Regions from separate parts of the Homo sapiens genome. Here region 2 is linked to region 1. Evidence: promoter capture Hi-C in 16 types of primary human blood cells and fetal thymus (Javierre and others, 2016). All regions are on one chromosome and are shown on one strand. The core of a region is centred on a gene start or on the middle of the fragment in contact, and the rest is flanking DNA. Distances in the headings are between cores, read along the strand shown. Region 1 holds the start of NECTIN4 (nectin cell adhesion molecule 4). Region 2 overlaps LOC105371470 (a long non-coding RNA gene).

Region 1 (3,828 bases), core at 330-2,829:
TCCACCTTTTTGGCCTAAACAAGTGAGAAGGATTATCTGGAAGATGGGAATTAAAACACAGGTGGTAGGGGACTGTGAGGGGATGGCAGGGGTAGGAGCTCAGTATCCTACGACTGGAGGCTGGGCCCATGACCTATAATAAAATCAGAGTTGGAGCAGCCCATACCTCCACCAATCCACACATCTAGGCCTTATTTCCCTCCTCAAAGCTTTGGCTGGAGATGGAGGTAGGGGAATCACTGCCAGATCTTGCTGGGCAACAGAGGCTCCCTTGCTACTGCTCCTGGGCCTGAGAATCAAACTGTCCTGTCCAGATCAGGCCCTATCTTTTGAAGGAGAAATATTTCTGTTACTCATTACCCTAGGAACACCCTATGGAATCCCACTGAGGTCTCACTGTGCACACACACGCACACACACTCTCCTCTACTCTGAAGATTATACATTCCTATAATTCATATTTGCTCTATATGCATTAGACAGACAGGAGGTGAGAAGTAATACAAGGCATCTAGTTAAGAAAATGGGGGAACAGGAGATGAACAAATGGGGACCACACCCTATCTAGAAGGTTCCCTTCCTTAGACCCCCATCCATCTAAACCCCCTTATTACCACCCTGGCACCTAATATTGTGCCCAGGGAAAGGAAGGGGTCAGAGTGACGGGCATTCTCAGCTCTCCTATAGTCCCCAACAGGTGCCCCAGTCCTGGTGCTCTAGAACATCATGGAGAGAAAAGAAGGAAATAGAAATCCCCCATCCACTCTCTGGGCATCAGGCTTCCTGCACCCTGATGACTGCAGAAACCAGCTGAGCTCTGAGTCAGCCCCAGTTCCAGGCAGCCGTTCCAGAGCCCAGGGGGTAGGCCAAGGCACCTCTAGGAAACCCTGGGGTGAACAGGATCCTCACAAGTCCCACCTGCCTGCCCATCTACACTGGGTCACCACGTCTATTCCCCAAGACAGCTCAGGCCTAGGCAAGGCTTTGGCAGAGGTGTCAGGGATCCCAGACATAGTGACCTGGCCTGGGGGCTGGGAGGAAACAAGAAGGGGGAGGGCTATACTGGCTTTTCTGGGGGCACTGCTGGAAGCTGGGGGCAGGAGAGACTGGATCCTCAGTTCAGAGTCAAAGAAAGGAGGATATGTGTGTGCGTGCGTGTGTGTCTATGTGTTTGTGCATGTGTGTCAGTGCCAGGTTGGGCTCAGAAGCAAGTGTCCTGATGGTTCAGGCAAGTCCTACCTGTAAATGATGCCAGCAGTAGCAGCAGCAGCAGCCAGGCCTCAGGCCCCCACATCTCGGCTCCCAGGGACAGGGGCATGGTTGAAAGGCAGACTGCCCAGCGTTTCTGAAGTTCCACCGAGATCTCCCTGGGAGCCGGCTGCAGACTTGAATAAGGAACTGACCCAGAAGGCAGGAAGCTGCAGAGTTCTTGCCTCTCGCACTTGGGTCTCCACTAGGGGACCCAGCCCCAGCCCCGGCCCCGTTCTACACACCCAGCCGTAGCTACCCCCAAGAAGCCGTGATCGGGAGCTCCGAGCTCCCCCAGAGCTGCTTCCCACGCTGTGGCCAACAACGACGGCAGAAACCTGGGAACCTGCTCAGCAGGTCAGAACAGGTGCGTCTCTGGGGGCTGGGCCTGGCACGGAGACTCAGCAGCCACCGCCCCCATGGCCTGGGCTAGCTAATAGGCGCCAGGGAGGGAGGGAAGGAGGGAAGGACCTGGGTGGGGGCGGTGGGGTCCCATCCTCAGCTCCAGGCTTTACCTGCGAGTATGTGGAAGGGGCTATGAAGGGAGAGGCAAGGGTGGGGACTAAGGGAGGCCCAGGGCACCAGGCCAGGCCAGGATGAAAGGGGCAAGGCCCTTGTGGGTAGAAAGGAACCCAAGCGTCCCACACCCCAGCTAGCCTTGGTACCTCCTGGGGGCCTTGACAAGTTCCCGGATCTCCTGGAGGGTCTCAGCTTTGGAGCCACAGAATCGGAGAAGGCCAGAACTGAGGAGGAAGGAGTCTGTCAGTGCTGCGCTGTATACTTCATTCTTCAGAAGAGAAAACCAAGGCCCAGAGAAGGGGAGGGACTTGCCAGAGGACACACAACTTAGTCTCATGGTTTGCTCAGACACCTCTATCCCTGAAGTAGGGAAGTAGTTCAAAGACCCCTGAGAAAGAACTTACGTAACTCCTCTAACTCCACCTCCATATATAAGAGGCCAAGGAAGTGGCCAAGGAATTAGCCGTAGGGGTTCCTGGTTTCCCTATCAGGGCCCTCTCTCAGCTTCAACACCTTGTTACCTGGCCAGGAGTCCCAAAAGCGCAGCAGCACAACTTGAATGGAGAGAGGTTCCTCTCTACCCTCTCCATGGCCATTTTACCCAGTTTACTCCAAGGTCATTGGACAAGACCACATGTCTGGACTTTGCAAGGAGAATCTTAATTTCAAGTACTCTAGCCCTGTATTCCTATAAGTACATCCTTGTCAGACCATGTGTTTCCATTCTGAATGCATAAAAAGTGACCGCCAAATTACACAAAACCTTCCTGGCCTCCCTGGGATAGCCAGAGGAAGAGGGCATATTCTGAGCCCACTGAAAATTTAGTGAACGGGAGGGACAACATCACTTGCAGTCTAGGGCTAATACAAAAACCAGGTAAATACAGAGATAGACGTGGGAGAAGAAAAAAATATAGGTTAAAGTTTTGCCATAGGACCCTTCCATCTGGAGAAGGCAGAAAGGAGGAATAAAGAAGCCATAAGGAAGAGTTGTTCTGTGTAGATTTTCTACCACCACCATCCCCACCAACTCTACCTGTCAAACTCTTATTCATCTTTCAAAGCTGACCTCAAATGCCACATCTTCGTGAAGCCTTCTCTGCTCCTCCCACCCCAAATTAATCTTTCTTCTATTCTTCCTCAGCCTTTGCTAGTCCTTTTATTATAGCTTATGTGCTCATAATTTGTGCACATCTTATCTCCTTAACTAAATTGTAAGCTTCAAGTCAAAAAAACATCGATTGAGGCCTGCTGTGTGCCAGGAATTCAGTAAATGTATTAAATTGCGGGACAGGACAAGAGTTGTAGCCTGTGAACTCCTTGAAAGTTGGGCTTGTTTTATAATCTTGTCTCAGTCTTCCATGCTAGGACAGGCCACAGCATTTCATGGGAACTGACTACATTTTGGTGAAGCCATGAATTTCTGAATAAATGAGTTGTCCGGATGAAAAGGATGGTGAAGTCGGATCAGTAAAGCAGAGATCCCGACTGGCTGTGAGTTACTATCCTGAACTAGGGTTGTGACCTGGACTTTACTCCTGTCACTGGACTATGACCCCAACTCTGGCTCTAGATGCCAAATGACCACGGCAGTGACCTCTTCTTCAGGGGCTATTTCCTGCAGGTCAGAGGCCCTTAAAGGCCAGGCCGGTTGCCAGAATTCCCCAGTTTCTCTCCACCTCCAACCCCTTCTCTTTTTCAGGTCCCCACCTGTGCCAGGGGAACAGCCCCACCCAGATGCTGCTTTGAGATCCTCTGTGGCAGGGGTGGAGTAGGGCCAGCGGGAATGGGAGGGGGAGCATCCTGTGTTATAATTATAATTATCACACCTTGGATCCTATCGCATGCTTTCGGAGGAGCTGCTTTCCTTCCCACGGATTCACCCCTCCAGGTACAGGAAGCCACAGGAGAAACTGAGGCACAGGAGTGGAAAAGCAGTTAGTTCACAAGATGGATATCCAATCTCCTTCAGCCTATCCATTCACAGTATACCCCGTGAAAGTGCTACCAGTCAGGATGTCTCTGAACCCCTGGTTGGGCCCCTTAATCACTCACCCTGAA
Region 2 (3,946 bases), core at 632-3,131, 310 kb before region 1:
CTTATAGGCTTATAGTCCTGCAGCCTCAGGGGGCTGATCTGAAGAGAGTAGCTGTGGTGGGGAATGTTCAGTCATCCACTGTAGGGTCCCTGAGTCTCAGAAACCAGAACTGGTTTGTCTGTTCATCCTTGTTGTAAAACAGCAACACGCTCTCAAGAGCTCCATGTAACACTTTCTACCTCTTGCTCTGCTGGGACCTCCAGGGGCCAAGTGGCCAACTCCCCAAGGATATCTTCCCCACTGTATCTTCTCCCAGTGTTCCTGACCCTGTAGACAAAGAAGAGAACCCACAACCTCAGTGTCAGTGTCTCCCCACCTAGTCAGGAAAGCCACAGGCTCCATCCAGCTCCTCCTGTGTGAGTCCCTCCAGCCTCCCCACCAGCTCCAGTGGGTCTTCTCCTCCCACTGCCATGACCACACAGACCAACACCCACCCACCCCAGACTCCCACCCTCCCAATGGTGTTAGCCCCCTTGCCCCAGGGTCTGAAGGGAACCAGGACTTCTTCTTCCACCCTCCCTGTCAACCCCAGAGCTGCTCAGGCCCCTGGGCAGACTGAGGAGCCTGGTACATATGCAGAAGTGAGGCACTGAGATAGGGTGGGAGCTGCTGTTACTGAATGGGTTCTTGACCATGCAGGTAAAAGTTAGAGCACTGTCCCCAAGCCTCAAGGAGACACTGAGGACAGACCCTCCACAGGACACAACAACAGTCTGGGGTCCCAGGGGTGTCCAGCTGTAAGTCACACTGCCTCCTCTGCTCTCTGCCACACATGTCAATGGCATATGAGAGTGACAATGCAGCATCCATCCTCACTAATCCTGGAGCTCAGTGTGACATGAGGCCAGGCCAGCTGCTCTGTGTGTGCGAAAGGGAATAAACTGAGGACTGGGAAACTGCTCTGGGCCTCCACTTCACAGGACAGAAAATGCACGGCATTAGTGCCCAAACCTTGCATCACCTTGAATACACAGAAGGAACAGCAGAGGCAGGATCTGCCCACATCTGTTCCAGAACTTTGTGCTATGTAAGGCCATGTCACTTAACATCTCAGTTGATTTCCAGAACAACTCCATGAACTAAACAGGGAAGATGTTATATCAACTCCATTTCACAGGCTCAGAATGCTTAGATAACCTGCCCAAAGTCTCATCTAGTTAAGTGGTAAAGCCAAAATCCAAATCCAGTGAATTTGAGCCCAAAACTGAGTTTCCCAACCCTGCCCTGAATAGATAAAGGAATGCAAGTACGGAGCTGTGTTGTAATTACATATTTTCCCCGTAGGGGGCTCTGCAGCATACACTGAGCTTCCAGGTGTTGATCAAGAGTCCCAGAGGAGGTGGCTGTGTGCCTTTGAGGTTTCTCCCACTCCCTTGCACTCCCTTGGACCTGCTCCCCGTCTCCTCTTGCCCCAGGGCCATGACCCAGATATTCTTAAGTGCTCGAGGTGTCCACATTGCCATTATTTGTCCACCAGCCTCCCAGGCCAGACCCAGGAGGATTTGGGGGAGGCGAGAAGAGCAGCTGCAGACACCAGGCCTGAAACACTCAACAAAGTCATATTGCATAGAACAAGGCTACTCTGCTACTCAGCCTCAGCCCTGTGGCCCACACGACTGCAGCCCCAGGGGAAACTCAACTGTGCAAAGTAGGACCACACAGGCCCAGCGTGTCCCCCAGGAGAAGGCAGCCTGGACATCCCCACAGGTGGGTACCTTGCTGCTGGCTCTCCCCACTGTGTCTCCTATATATCAGGCCCTGGGATGCAAGCCACTTGACTTCTATTGGCCCTTTTCTCATCCAATAAATATGGCGACATACCAGAAACCCAGAGAATGAAGGCACAGGGTACAGCATCAGAATACCTGAGTTCGATTCCCAAATCTGCCACTTTCTAGCTCCATGTCATAGGTGTCTTATTTTCCCTTTCTAAGATTCCGTTTCCTTCCTAGAAATGAAAACTCCTGACCTGCATACTGGCAGGGCTGTTGTGAGGCTGCAGTGATGGGAAACACCCTGTGAAGGATGGAGCCTGACCATTAGCACTGCCTTGCCATTGGGATGTCAACCCAGAGAGAGAAGGGCTCTCTGGAAGACCCCACCCCTGATGGATTGGCACAACCCTATCCTCTACCCAGACTCCACCTGACACCATACCACACTAAGTAAGTGCTATCAGAATGACTATCAGCGAGGCCAAAGGGCCTCTCCCACCAGTTTTGGGCCCACCCTACCCTAGTGAGCAACCCAACCCCAAGTCCCAGCAACCCACTTCCATTGTGCCCTGGTCCTGTTGTGAGAAGCAGGCCATAGCCAGCCCAGGCCTGATTTATGGCAGACACGCCTTCTCCCCAGCCATGTGGACCTGACCAGAGAGCAGCCCCATCAACTCCACTAAAAGAGTGCCTTCGTCTAATAGGAAGATTTCCTATCACAGAATCCAAGAAAAATGTCTGTGAAGGTTCTCTGCTGGCCTTCCCATGTCCATCCTCACTCACCACCTGTCCCCCTCGCTCATTGCAGGGGAACGGCTCTGCCATAGCACCCTGAGACCTTGCACATCTCTCTCAGGCAAAGGTTTCAACCTCTGCTAAACTGGGTCTTGGCAAAATGCCTTGTGATCCACCCAGAACACGAGAGTTCAGGTGGCCTGTGAGGCACAGCCTTGAAGCCATCTCCCCTGGGAGGCTGTCATGAGACTATTTCCCCTGGCTCCTGGGGTTCTGATGCAGTATGGGACTTCTTGTCCTCAGAACACAGCTGCGGTCTCTAAGTCCTCTTTGCTGAAGGTAGAATTGGCCCCTCGGCATCTGGGTATTCCACAGCTCCCACTGCAGCCATCTGGCCCCTTTTGTTTCAATGTCATCTTTTCTGGTGTGGGACAAGTGCCCAGGGATCTGGAACCCTTGGCTACTCTTCCATTCGTTATATGAATAATCAACTGTCTGAATCTCAAAGTGGCTCAGCGTAGCATCTTTCATAGGCCTTTCTCGGTGCTGTGTGTGCTTGATACCCACCCCATTGCTTCCTTTGTAGTTTCTCCTGCTAAGATTTTTTAAATTTCTTTAAGGAATTTGATAAGAGCATCCCTCTGCATCTGCATAGGCCTTTCCAAAGCACTTTCATATGTTTTCACTCTCACAAAAAGGTATTGTTCCCATTTTAGTAATGAGGAAGCTCCAGGCCACAAGAGGAGGTTGTGGAAAAACTCAGTTCTCAGGGCCTGAAATCCCATTCTCTGACCACTACTGTCCCAAGAACTCTGCTTCAGGTGGTCTAGGGTAGGTCCTGAGGCTTGACATTTTTCAGGAGATTCTCTCTGGCAACTCTAACTTACATATCTTTAAAAACAAAAAACAAAACAGTGCGCATAAATTAGTCTTGCAAATTGCGAATGTTACTAAAGCTGTAGAAATGACTGAGAGGCTGACACTGCCTCACCCACTGCTGCCATCTCTAAGACACCCACTATAGACTTGCAGATGGTACTCCCAGGTGAGGGTGCTGCAGGAAATCCTCAGGTTAACATGGGCTCGGTAGGGCCCTGTATCCTCCCAGCTCAGGTTGCTGATCTACACGCAGGGATAAACCTGGACTCATGACACTCAAGCGACCCGAGGACCAGGTTTCCGCTTGGTAAAAGATGTCTGGGCCCCCAGCTTCTCCCATGGTTACTGTGGTGATCTCCATGGGGACCGAACGCGATATCCAGGAGATGGTCGCCACCTCCTGTCCAGAGCGATATCCAGGAGATGGTCGCCACCTCCTGTCCAGAGCGATATCCAGGAGATGGTCGCCACCTCCTGTCCAGAGCGTCTGCAGGGGCAGAATGACAGACCCTCCTAGGTCCCAGTGACCACTAGGGGTGCTGTGGTCCCTCTGGAAGTCCCTGGTCCTGCAGACACAGAACAGAAGCTTCAGGGGGTAGCCTGACTACGCCAGAAGG

Evidence for each region. Contacts are between HindIII fragments. The CHiCAGO score rates a contact against its expected background, and 5 or more counts as called.
Region 2: a contact is called between a fragment that was not itself captured here and the fragment with the promoter of NECTIN4 in region 1, in 2 of 17 cell types (erythroblasts and activated CD4 T cells). The highest score is 5.4, in erythroblasts.

Annotation. Positions count from the first base shown.
Region 1 is chr1:161,087,979-161,091,806 of GRCh38, forward strand. NECTIN4 (nectin cell adhesion molecule 4) reads right to left here and starts at 1,580. Exons shown (of 9, transcript NM_030916.3): 1 at 1,240-1,580. The coding sequence starts at 1,318. It overlaps NECTIN4-AS1 (NECTIN4 antisense RNA 1), which reads left to right. Exons shown (of 4, transcript NR_183641.1): 4 at 1-2,754. The HindIII fragment of the contact is 2,777 bases long and covers 208-2,984 here.
Region 2 is chr1:160,776,382-160,780,327 of GRCh38, forward strand. LOC105371470 (a long non-coding RNA gene) reads right to left here. Exons shown (of 3, transcript NR_188636.1): 2 at 1-267. Among named protein-coding and RNA genes, the nearest start is that of LY9, 18 kb to the right of the region's middle. RefSeq lists enhancers at 1,032-1,081, 1,402-1,471. The HindIII fragment of the contact is 4,063 bases long and covers 1-3,913 here.